2 separate regions of the Homo sapiens genome follow, and region 1 is linked to region 2. The links are contacts of gene promoters, found by promoter capture Hi-C in blood cells and fetal thymus (Javierre and others, 2016). All regions are on one chromosome and are shown on one strand. The core of a region is centred on a gene start or on the middle of the fragment in contact, and the rest is flanking DNA. Distances in the headings are between cores, read along the strand shown. Region 1 holds the start of LTBP2 (latent transforming growth factor beta binding protein 2). Region 2 holds the start of TTLL5 (tubulin tyrosine ligase like 5).

Region 1 (5,796 bases), core at 3,141-5,640, 1.0 Mb after region 2:
TAAGGGTGGCAGAAAGTTCTGATAACTCCACATCTCCAGGTACATGAGCTCCAGGTACATGAACAGTGGGCTGGCAGGCAGGGAAGAGGGCATTTGGGGATATGCCCTAGAGCTCCTTTGGTGGTGATAGTGGTGGGGTGGTTGGAAAGGTCATGATTCAATTGTGAAGAGGGCTCCAGGCTTACAAGCCCGGGGTGGAGGCAAGGCGGTGTAACCTTAAAAGCTTGGGCTCAGGTGGAAAATGATCCAGGTTTGAATCCTGCCTCTGCTATTTATCAGCTGTGCCATCTTGGGCAAGCCAGTAGCCATTGCCAACCTCAGTTTCCTCCTTTGTATGCGTGGAAATCATAATGCCTCCTTTGGTTGGTTAAATCAGCCAATTGATGTAACATGCTTAGTATGGCGTTTGGACTAAAGTAGGCTCTATCGATTTTGGCAGGTTAAAAAAAAAAAGCAAAACTCAAGTGTTTGTGGGATTGGAGATTCTGAAGAGCTGCAATCAGTCCCAGCAGTTAGAGGGTAAGGGAGATATGGGCAGTAAGTAGGTGGCAGGACAGAGTGTGGCGCCGGGATGGGGTAGAAGATGCCAGTCTTTGGAGTAGATGAACTGGGTTATGGTCCCCAGGCGAACAGGGTGGGAACGTCCAAGGACCACTTGTACTCACTGAGGAGTGGAAGGGGCGCCCGATGGTGAGGGAAAGTTGGTCTGCGTGAGGGTTTTGGCGGAGGCGAAGGGTGAGGGATGAATGGGCGGCAGACTTCCAGAAATGCAGACGGAGGAGACGGAGCAGTAATAATGACTTGGACACACAGGAGGAAAAAATAGCTCAGGGACGAAGATGATGCCAAGGTTTCTGGCTTTTGGAGGCCCACGGGGATCTGAGGTGGGTCTTGAGGGATCTAGAGGGGAGCTTCTGAAGGAAGTGGGTAGGTTCCGGGGAGAGGAAGGGAGCCCAGAACTACAGAGGTGGGTGGATATCTGGGCAAGGAGAGGTAAGTGTGGACCTGGGGCTTCCACAGCTGTGAAGGAGCAGCATCCCAGGAACAGAACGCAGCATTCTGGGAACTAAGGGGCATTCATGGTCAAATGCAAGGGGTAGGGTTCAAGGAGATCTTTAGAGCCAGCCCCAAAGGCAGCAAGCACATGAACCTGGATCAGGAGCTGCCACCCAGAACTCAGTTCCTCTCTCTTAAAATGGGTCTAATGATACCAGCCCTCCCCACTTGATGGGATTACTGTGTCCTTCATTCAGTTAGCTATCCATTTCACACATACTTCTTGGCTGTTCTAGGTTCTGCAGAAACAGTGGTGAGCAACGCAGACAAGATATCTGTTGCTTTAGAGCTGTCATTGTGGTTTGGGAAGTCAGACAAGAAATGATTTTATAGGTTGTTGAATAGGACTTTTCCTCTGCTCTTGGAATATCTGCTGAAGCCACAAAGATAGAACAATGAGGGCTAAATATTCTTGCATTCTGAAGAGAAGTACTAGACACCTTACTAAAGGCAGAACAGGTTCAACAGCAATCAAACTACATCCCTCAATTCCAGTCTACAAATGAAAGGGATTGAAGAAAGTCACTGAAGCATAACACTGCTGCATTTGTGGGCAGGGCTGAGATTTCCCCTGAGGGAACTCCCCAACTCAAACCAAATGAAGGGAGCTCCCAGAGAGAACCAGTCATCTGCAAGAAGAGGAGGCTCTGTCCCTATAACTGTCCCCCCACTGATGCTGACTATGTTGCTGGATGTTACAGGCACCTCGGTGCATTAAACTACAGCAAGACAGTTCATGGGAGAACCCAACATATGTCTTTAGGAATTGAGGACGTACATAAATGAAGAGACTTGTGTGCACTTCCTGTCTGGAGAATTCTGATCGTGGAGCCTCGCTGGAGTGGCCTGTGTGGCAAGGTGAGAAGTGGGCAGGGTGAGGAGCGGCCAACCCACCATTGTTTTGCCTGGCATAGGTGGGACAGTCCTATGAGAGACAGAGGATGCAGGGGTCTCCGAGAGGTTGGCCAGAGAGTAATTTGCTATGGCAACTCAGGGTGGAGGTCCTGTAGAGAACCTCCCAAAAACCCACATATGTGCCCATGAAAAAGCCAGCGCTTGGCACCTGCCAACCAAGGGTACCTGTCACATAAGACTTTGCTACTTTTCCTCTAACACCTCTCTCCCAGCCTTGACAAAGAGGAGCCACAGCAGAAAAGGGAGGTCAGGAAAACAGACCACACCCCACTCTCACCACTGCAGGATCTCTAGCAAAGGGACAGGGGAGAGGAGGACTATTAAATGGGATGTGATATTGATTAACTTGGATGAGATTTTGATCTGGACAGGAGCAGACTTTTTGTGTCTGAAAATGGGTCTTAATTATATTAATAGAATAGTTCTCGTGTCTGGTAGGGATGACCTCTCAAGCCAAGGACTCTGCCTGAGATGTCATTAAGGGTGGGAAAGGGAAATTTACCATAATATGGTTGAAGGTAGTAGTGGAGCAGTTTCTGGATAGTCCCTCTTTAGGTTCAGCCCATTAAAAAATTCAGTTACACGAGCAAACAAATCAATAACAAGATGATGTCAACTGTTTTATGAAGATGAAACAGGGTGGTGTGTTAGAGTCATGACTGGGGTGAGGGAGGGCTGCTCTAGATTGGAGGTCAGGGATGGCTACTCCAGGAGCTGATATTTAATCTGAGAGGAGCAGTGATGAGGAACTACCCTCTAACATCCTGGAGAGGAACCTTCCAGTAGAGGGAAGGGGGCATTCACTTGGCTTGTTCAAGGAGCAGAGAGAGGGCCAAGGCAGCACAGTGTGGTGGGTAAGGGAGAGCAAGAGGCCAGATGAAATCAGAGCGGGGGCAGCCAGCTAGGGTTTGTAGGCCAAGGCCAGGGGTCGAGGCTTTATTTCAACAGTAGATATTACCTGGGCTTGTCTTTTGTGTGGTGTGGGAGGTTGTGAACTGGTGCCCACATGCCAGCTCCTTCACTCTGCCTCTCTGGGAAATAGGCTGTACAAATGTGCCAGGGGCAGCCCTGTTGATCCAAGCCTTTAGGCTGTAGGGAGGGAGCATGGGTGAGAATGGTGTGCTGATTACTGGGGACACGCAGACAGCGGCAGTCAGCATTCCCACACCCCTGCCCGCCTCCCTGCTAACACAAGATGTGAATGCACACACTGGGTCAATCGGGGTCACCGAATCCCCCTCTGGGAAATTCCCGAGAGAGTGAAGGGCTGGGTGGGATCCCGGGAATGGATTCAGCCAGAGGCGGGAGGCCTAGATTCCACTCCCCTCTTTCACATGCGCTATCTCCTTGAGTGACTTACTCAAGAGGCTCCGTGTCTTTGCCTCGGTGAAAAAGAGGACCCCTTGGCCGGGCGTGGTGGCTCACGCCTTTAATCCCAGCACTTTGGGAGGCCGAGGCGGGCGGATCACCTGAGGTTGGGAGTTCGAGACCAGCCTGACCAACATGGAGAAACCCCGTCTGTACTAAAAAATAAAATAATATACAAAATTAGTCAGACTTGGTGGCGCATGCCTGTAATCCCAGCTACTAGGGAGGCTGAGGCAGGGGAATCGCTTGAACCCGGGAGGCGGAGGTTGCGGGGAGCTGAGATCGCACCATTGCACTCCAGCCTGGGCAACAAGAGCGAAACTCCGTCTCAAAAAAAAGAAAGAAAGAAAGAAAGAAAAGAAAAAGAAAAAGAAAAAGAGGACCCCTCTTCTACCGGCAGCCATCACCGCGCCAGGCTCAGGCGTGACCCTCACGCCAGTGGAAGGGGATTGAGATCCAGAGCGAAGGCGGCGGCGCCAGGGCATTGCAGCCACGGAGCGCCAGGGCCGCCAGCTCCGCCAGGGGGCGCGCCCGGGACCTCCCTGCGCTCCGCGCGCCGCGCCCCGCCCCGCGCCACCCCCGCTCCGGCCGGCCCTGCGGAGGGCGCCCCCAGCGGCCAGGGCGCAAGCGGAGGGGGCGGCGGCCCTGTTCCCCTACGCGGGCCTCGGCGCCCCTCCCGGCTTCCTTCAGACCTGCAAGGCTGCAGCCTGGGTCCCCCGATCCAAAGACGGTCCCTGAGGCGAGGGGCGGGAGAACGATTCGGGGCAGGTCTGCAGTTCGAACTTGCCCAGAGCAGGAGAAAGGCGGCCCAGTGTCCCGGTCGTGGCAGGCGCCATCTGCCCGACCAGCGCCTGGGTCAGCCCCGCGCCGCCCCCTGCTCCGCACGGGTTAATCCCCCTCGCCGCCCGCTCGCCGCCCGCTGGCTTCCCGGTGCCAAAGTGGGTGTTGCTGGAATTCCTCGCTCCCTCTCCGGTAATGAGGGGGCTGAGCTGTCCCTCCGAGGAGGGGGCCTGGTGTGGATAAAAGAGACGAAAAAGCCGGGGGAGGTTTCCAAAAATAAAACCGTCCGGGTCCCCTTCAGACGGCTGCAGGCACAGGGAGGAGGCGCGAAGGTGCAGCAGCCGTGCGAGCCCAGCTGGAGTAGGAGCGCGGACTCGAGGCTCGGGGCGCGCAGCCCTCGTTCCGCCGAGAGCCGGGCCCCCAGTCGGCCGCTTCAGGGCCCCCTAGACTCAGAGAAGCTGGCCGCCGGGCGGGGCCGGGAGAACAGCCCGCGGGCGTCCAGCGTGCCGACCACAAAGCTCTTCGCGGTGCCCGCGCGCACCACTCTCCAGCCGCCCCGCGCCATGAGGCCGCGGACCAAAGCCCGCAGCCCGGGGCGCGCCCTGCGGAACCCCTGGAGAGGCTTCCTGCCGCTCACCCTGGCTCTCTTCGTGGGCGCGGGTCATGCCCAAAGGGACCCCGTAGGGAGATACGAGCCGGCTGGTGGAGACGCGAATCGACTGCGGCGCCCTGGGGGCAGCTACCCGGCAGCGGCTGCAGCCAAGGTGTACAGTCTGTTCCGGGAGCAGGACGCGCCTGTCGCGGGCTTGCAGCCCGTGGAGCGGGCCCAGCCGGGCTGGGGGAGCCCCAGGAGGCCCACCGAGGCGGAGGCCAGGAGGCCGTCCCGCGCGCAGCAGTCGCGGCGTGTCCAGCCACCTGCGCAGACCCGGAGAAGCACTCCCCTGGGCCAGCAGCAACCAGCACCCCGGACCCGGGCCGCGCCGGCTCTCCCACGCCTGGGGACCCCACAGCGGTCTGGGGCTGCGCCCCCAACCCCGCCGCGAGGGCGGCTCACGGGGTGAGCATGGGAGAGGGAAGTTTGGAGGGTACAGAGGGGAGCCAGGGCTCATTTGTGGAGGGGCGTGCAGGCGAGAGGAGAGGGCGCCGCTCTCATACCCTCGTCCCTCTGTCTTTAGTACTTCGGGAAACAGCCCCGAGGTTCCAAAATCGGGATTGGAAGATTTGATCCGCTTTCGAAGAGTTGAAGGCAGATAGATCATCATCCTCATCCTTTCTTACCAACTCTCCCGGAGCCCCGACGTTAAATCCTTTCGCAAGGCGCCTCTCCACTCGCCCGCGTTCCTCCTGCCTGCAACTAACGAGCTCTTGTAGACTCTTGCAGCGCTGCCGGGATCTGAGAGGCAGCGGGGAGAGGGCAGGAGGGTGGGCGCTCCAGGCTCTTGACGCCCAGGGGAGGTTGAGCTGGCTCAGAGCGCGGGTTGGCGGAGGTGTCGGGGGCCCCATGGAGAGAAGGTAGATGCGTCTCCAGGAGGGGAGCCGGCAGCGAAGCTGGTGCGTCGGGACAAGTGTCGTGGGGCGTGGGTCGGCCTGCGCACGCTGAGGGCTGGATGCGGGCGTGGGCGTGAGCTCTGGGTACTTTGGGCGGGAAGCGTGTCCTGATGAGGCTGCGACACAGTG
Region 2 (6,335 bases), core at 3,479-5,978:
TTTTACTAGAAATTCAGTATTTCTTAATTATGAATATAGGCAACGAACCATAGTAATATTAGCATTATCTGTGCCTTTGACGTTATCTAAAATTACAGCAGTTTTTTTGTTTTGTTTTGTTTGAGACGGAGTCTCACTCTGTCTCCCAGGCTGGAGCACAGTGGCACAATCTCGGCTCACTGCAACCTCTGCCTTCCAGGTTCAAGCGATTCACCTGCCTCAGCCTCCCGAGTAGCTGGGATTACCCACAACCACACCCGGCTAATTTTTGTATTTTAGTAGAGACAGGGTTTCACCATATTGGCCAGGCTGGTCTCAAACTCCTGACTGCAAGTGATCTGCCCACCTCGGCCTCCCAAAGTGCTGGGATTACAGGCGTGAGCCACTGCACCTGGCCAATTACAGGTATTACATTTGTCACTACTTCTAAGTTATAGTAGTTTAAGACTCACCCCTAGATCACATGTGATCATGGTCTTTCTATCTAAATGCTAGTGTGATGAGGTTGGACAACAATTGGGCAACTCTCCTCCTAATAATCATTCAGTCACTAAATGATGACACCTCACACTGGTGACCCAGACATCTATGCTGCTTCCCAGTACCCCCGACCTATGATTGTTAATCAAAGGCCACCCTCCCAGTGTACTGATCTTACACAAACTAAACAAAAACAGTCTTCATGTTGTTGTCTTTAGAAAACAAAATTTAACTTTCCCAGATTTGAAATGATCTTATTATTTAATGTATTAGTAAAACAGCACATATTACTATGTTACAAATGTGTTTTAATAACTGCATTTGAATGTAATTAGTACTCTTTGTAATAATATGTATTTTATTTTAAGCCTTAAAAACATTATTCTGGTAAGGAATCCATGGCATAAAAAAGTTAACAACTCTGATCTAAGGTAATGTAAAGTATAAAGCCTTCATTTATTCCTTCATTTCGTTATTCAGTCAGCAAGAATTTACTAAGTACCTACTATAATATTAGGTCAAACTATCTGCAATCGTCAGTATTTGACTGTTTCTGACCTACCAAAATGGCAGTTTCATATAGTTCAATCTAACATTTGTCAGGCCCAATCTGTAAACCCACTAATAAGAGAGACAGTAATGGAGTAAAAGAACAACCTTTAAAAAGGGAAAGACTGATACTTGCAGCAGAAGTTAAAAGTTTTATGAAATGGGTAAGAGGCAGCACACCGAAAGCAAAAAGTCAGAAGAAGGGAAAGTAACCAGAGGGAATTATCCATTTAATTATCCTGAACAAGAATGACCCAAATATACTTTCAAATCTCTATTAGTTTCTATGACCTAACAGTGATAAGAAACGTTTCCTCAAAGCTTTCTTAATGCTTCAACAATTTTTTTCAAATTACAAGTAATCTTGTATCTTACAAGAAGCCCACCATAAATTCAATATTAAAACCAGTAAAAATAATGCCTTACATTTGTATAGCACTTACAAAGTAATTTCACATACATTATGCTATTTGAGTCTAACCAGACCCCTACAAAATAGCCTGGGAGATATTATCTCTATTTTTCAGGTTACATAGCACACACATATCCAAAAGGACTCAGGGAGAATCTTAAAAATGAATTTTACCTTTAAACCAGATTCTCTCTTTACTCTGTGTCAAGCAATAATTAAAGGAGGCAAAAGAGCAAAGTGATCAAAATCCAGAAAAGCTAAGTCCAAATCTCAATGCATCACTTACTCTCTATGGGTCACTGAGGAAATTTCCTGATAAGACTGAGTTTAAAAAAGTGAAAATAATAACACCTTCAGATTTAAAAAGATATAAGATATAGATGAGATAAAGCCTTTATCGTCATCTGTAGTAGCTATATTTATCATTATCATTCTTTTTTTTTTTTTTGAGATGGAGGTTTGCTCTTGTTGCCCGGGCTGGAGTGCAATGGTGAGATCTCAGCTCACTGCAACCTCCACCTCCCAGGTTCAAGCCATTCTCCTGTCTCAGCCTCCCGAGTAGCTGAGATTACAGATACCCACCATCACGCCCAGCTAATTTCTGTTTTTTTAGTAGAGATGGGGTTTCACCATGTTGGCCAGGCTGGTCTTGAACTCCTGACCTCAGGTGATCCGCTCACCTCGGCTACCCAAAGTGCTGGGATTACAGGCATAAGCCAACACACCTAGCTATTATTCATTCTTATTGTGATGATCCAGTAATCATGAAATTGGACTCTTAACTAAAAGAACTCAGGAAAGCAGTGTGGGTCAATGGACACAACACAGGCTATAGAACTCTAATATCCTGCCTCAGAGTTACTATGGTAAGTTACCTGACCTCTCTATATTACCACCATTTTATCATTGTAAAGGCTTTTGAGAAAATTAGCAAACGTAACTAATGTTGTAGAGTTTGGACATGCTTTTCTTCAATACTTAAACATTTCAAAATCTTCTGTTGGGAGTTCTGAGCAAGAGTTCACCAAGAGCTACTACTTGCATTTTACAACATCTAGAGCTGATGTTCACTTATGGGCCCAGAAAGAGAGCCTTATCTCATTTCTCATAGCTGATAGGGACTGAGTAACAAGACCTTAAATGACATTATGGATAGAAGCTAAAACCAGAGTTAGATAATCCCCAAGGAATGACACTAGATAAAAGAGTACATAAGTAAAAGAGAAGAGTATATAGTAAAACAGTATATAAGAGTATATAAGTGAAAGAGTACAAAGCACAGGTTGAAAGCAGGCTTGCTATTACTTACTCTTGACTTATGACCTCCTCATCCTCTGAGGATGATGCTGTTTCCTCCAGGTCCCGGGCCATCACGATTGGCATTTCCTTTAGGGTTTGTCATGCAGTCAGCAGACGGGGGCCTCAGAGACCTTTCCTAGCAGATTCACTGGATCAAGCAATTTGGATGGCACAGATTCCTGCAAGAAATCAACTTGATTGGATCAATTGACCTGAAACACAATGCAGTTGTCTATTTATTGGTTATTGCTGATAATCTAAGTAATGAAAATGACTATATTCCTAAACAGTGCTCAACCTCTAGAAGTTTACTTTCCATAACATATGGAATGTGCCTCAATATGTGCCTCAATATGCCACAAAAATCAAGATTTTTTTCAAACATACAGTCTGTGCTCTATATATTTGAAGAGCTGTTACTAAGTTTGAGTTTCTCATTATTTACTAAATCGAATATGCACCAAAAGGATAGACTCCTCACTTTCACTCAGTTTGAGGCAGGTGACTGATTCCCTAAAACATATATTCCTTGCTAGACAAACCTGGCCTGGGTTAAAAATAAATAAATAAAAACTCAAGGTTTAAGACCCTTGCAGGCCGGGCAGGGTGGCTCACGCCTGTAATCCCAGTACTTTGGGAGGCCAAGGCGGGCGGATCACCTGAGGTCGGGAGTTCGAGACCAGCCTGACTAACATGGAGAAACCCCGTCTTTACTAAAAAAAAAAAAAAAAAATACAAAAAATTAGCCGGGTGTGCTGGCTCATGCCTGTAATCCCAGCTACTCGGGAGGCTGAGGGAGGAGAATCGCTTGAACCCGGGAGGCGGAGGTTGCGGTGAGCCAAGATCGCGCCATTGCACTCCAGCCTGGGCAACAAGAGTGAACTCCGTCTCAAAAAAAAAAAAACAACAAAAAACCCCTGCCAACATTTATTTAGACTCTATGACAAGCACGCTGACAAGATGCCATCATGTTTCCAGTAAAATAAATTCAACAATGAACCGAAAGATGAATATATTCTCTTGAATCAAAGGTCCATATAAATAGGTGGGGGAGGGGAGGAATGCCCTTCCACTCTTAAAAATTATTCTTCCTAAAAATCACAAAGTTTGGTACGACTCTCAAATAGACGATGAAATTAGGAAATTTCCAACACTGCATTTCTAACTTAAAATATTTTTTCTAAAGTAAAAAAGTACATGTTCGTTGTGTGTGTCAGAAGAAGAAATAGGAACTACAAATAAAAGAAACATGTTTAAATGACCATAATCCCAAATTACTCAGCGATAATTACTTGCTGTCAATCCTTCTTAACTTTTCCATGCATTCATAAATACGATGAGACTGTAAATAAGACAAAAAAAAAACAGACCCCGATAATGATCAAAGATCTTCGGCGCAATAGGCAATGTCTAACAACTTCAATGGCTTTCTTCAGGGGATTCTCAACGGGATTTCTTGATCTTTCCCAAAATGCTGGGAAGCCCTTTAAGTTTAAACAAACAAAACCTCCAAACGGGAAGGGATGCCAACCTCTCCTAGGCTGCCTGCAGAGCGGGGAGAAACAGGTCTATCGGAAGAAGAGTAGAGATACTCACCTAAGGAGACTCCTCTCCCGAAAGGAATCTGCTTCTCAGCCCCACCCCCAGCTCACCCCAATCCCACGTAGGTCCGCAGATGCTCCCCCCGGGAAGGACGGGACGACCCCGCAGCCGCGATTCAACGCGGCGCGCCCGGAAGCCAACAGCTACTCCCGGGCTCTGAGCGGGAAGTCCTGCTGCAGGCGCCAGCCCGGACCCGGGAATGCTCCTCCCTAGGGTAGGGAAGCGCGCGGGCGCAGGCGTTTACCTGTCTCATCTTCCCATGGTTCGGGGCGAGCAGGCGTGGACCGCGCTCTGCGCCTACCTCCCTCCTCCTTCCCCAGGAAGGCTCAGGGCAGCCGCCGACGGCTGCTTCCCCGGTTACTACAACAACCAACAAGCAACCGCCCGCTCGGAGCCACTGCGCAGGCGCTCATAACGCTCAGCTGCGGACGCGGGCGAATGTCGTCACCGCCGCGCAGCGCGGGCGCAGAGCCCTGCCCTCAGCTGAAGGGAGTCTTCTTTTTTTTTTTTTTTTCCGCTGTTTTTTTCTCCGCCCCTAAGAGGTTGACTCCAAACCCGGAGTTCCGCTAGGTCCAACAGGAGGGCTTACGGCGTGAGCGGCGTACCTGGGGAGAGGCTTAGGCAGCGGCAACCGCTGATTGGCAGTAAAGGGGTTCACTCCCCATCTCCTGCTCGGGCGAAACCGGGACAGCCAATCAGAGAGAGTACTGACGGAAACGGCCCAATCCTGGAGCAGGGCTGAGGGAGGGGGCGGGGACAAATGGCTCAGGTGGACTCCGGGCTGGAGCTGTCCTGGGGGAGCTTGTTTGCGGCAGCGGCTGCTGCTGCCACTGCTGTGCTGGGGGCCCGGTCGCCAGGTAAGGAGAATATGGGGGAGAAGAGGGATGTAGGTGTCTGTGTTGCTTCTGATTGAGAGGATCCGGAGAGTCTGGAAAAATGGAGGTGGGATGGAAGGAAGATAACTGGAAGGCAACCTTTTGGGGGGAAAAGGTTTCGAGAGGCGATGACAAGGGGGAGCTAGGAAGATGGAGAAGGCTTGGTGAATTCAAGGAACGAAGGAATGGATGAGCGAATGAGCAGCCACTATGAGCCTAGCACTGTACAAAGAGCCTTCACTTTTTGTCATATAATTCTTACAATAGCCCTTCGGGTTGATATTTCTATCTCCATTTTGCAGATGAGGAAACCGAGACTGAAAAGTGTAAATGACTTACCCAGGGTCACACAGCTACTAAGTGGTAGGGCCAGGATAAGAATCCCTTTCTCCTGATTAAGTTTTAACAGCACACCTATGCTGGGCTGGGCTTGGCTGGGCTGGGCCAGGGCCAGGACAAAATTTGGAAATAGATGTTGTATACACTCTAAGAGGCCCTTAAGCTTTAGGGAAATTAGGTTGAGAAATTGGCAGAGCAATTCAGAAGTGCTCAGGCTCTGTCCTCATCAGCTATCTGTTGGGATTTCTAACAGATAACACTTCTGTGAAATGGAAGGCATACTTGTGCAGAAAAGTGGAGAGGTGCATCCATGCAGCTTTTCTAAACCCCGGAGGAGTCTCCTCTTGAGAGAGAGTGAGAAAATAAAGAGGATGGGTGGATCTTGGCCCAAATGATAATGGCCTGTGATGTCCAGTAGACCCTCAGTCTCTCTGATCTTCGACAGAGACCACCTTTGTGATCCAGCTCTCCCTGAAGGGCTCATCAATTCACCCTTCCTTCTCTAGATCTCTTTATTGCTTGTTTGGGGCGGGGAGTTGGCGGGGGGGGGCGGCGGTGTTTCACACTGTCTTGGGCCATTGCTGACTTTAATATCTGTCCCACTGGGTAGCAGAGAACAATACCGAAACTTGTATTGCCAAAGTGACAAAGAAAGCCTGTTAGTTTATTACCACTTCAGGCCCAAGAGGTTAACCTGACAACAGATAAACCGTGGACCAAGAAAATAATAATGAGGATGGGAAAAAGTCATTCCATTATTAGATTATTTATCTATTTTG

What was found. The method cuts DNA at HindIII sites, captures the fragments that hold promoters and counts their contacts. A CHiCAGO score of 5 or more calls a contact.
Region 1: the fragment with the promoter of LTBP2 here is called in contact with the fragment with the promoter of TTLL5 in region 2 in 1 of 17 cell types (neutrophils); the score reaches 5.3 in neutrophils.

What each region holds. Positions count from the first base shown.
Region 1 is chr14:74,610,831-74,616,626 of GRCh38, reverse strand. LTBP2 (latent transforming growth factor beta binding protein 2) reads left to right here and starts at 4,390. Exons shown (of 36, transcript NM_000428.3): 1 at 4,390-5,176. The coding sequence starts at 4,683. LOC101928352 (a long non-coding RNA gene) reads right to left here and starts at 3,442. Exons shown (of 2, transcript XR_944029.4): 1 at 3,332-3,442; 2 at 2,579-3,060. RefSeq lists a silencer at 3,760-4,079 and an enhancer at 3,707-4,334. The HindIII fragment of the contact is 11,176 bases long and covers 226-5,796 here.
Region 2 is chr14:75,659,639-75,665,973 of GRCh38, reverse strand. It overlaps TTLL5 (tubulin tyrosine ligase like 5), which reads right to left and starts at 4,728. Exons shown (of 32, transcript NM_015072.5): 1 at 4,587-4,728; 2 at 2,751-2,919. The coding sequence starts at 2,824. It overlaps ERG28 (ergosterol biosynthesis 28 homolog), which reads left to right and starts at 5,098. Exons shown (of 5, transcript NM_007176.4): 1 at 5,098-5,199. RefSeq lists an enhancer at 4,657-4,876 and a silencer at 4,987-5,036. The HindIII fragment of the contact is 4,369 bases long and covers 1,353-5,721 here.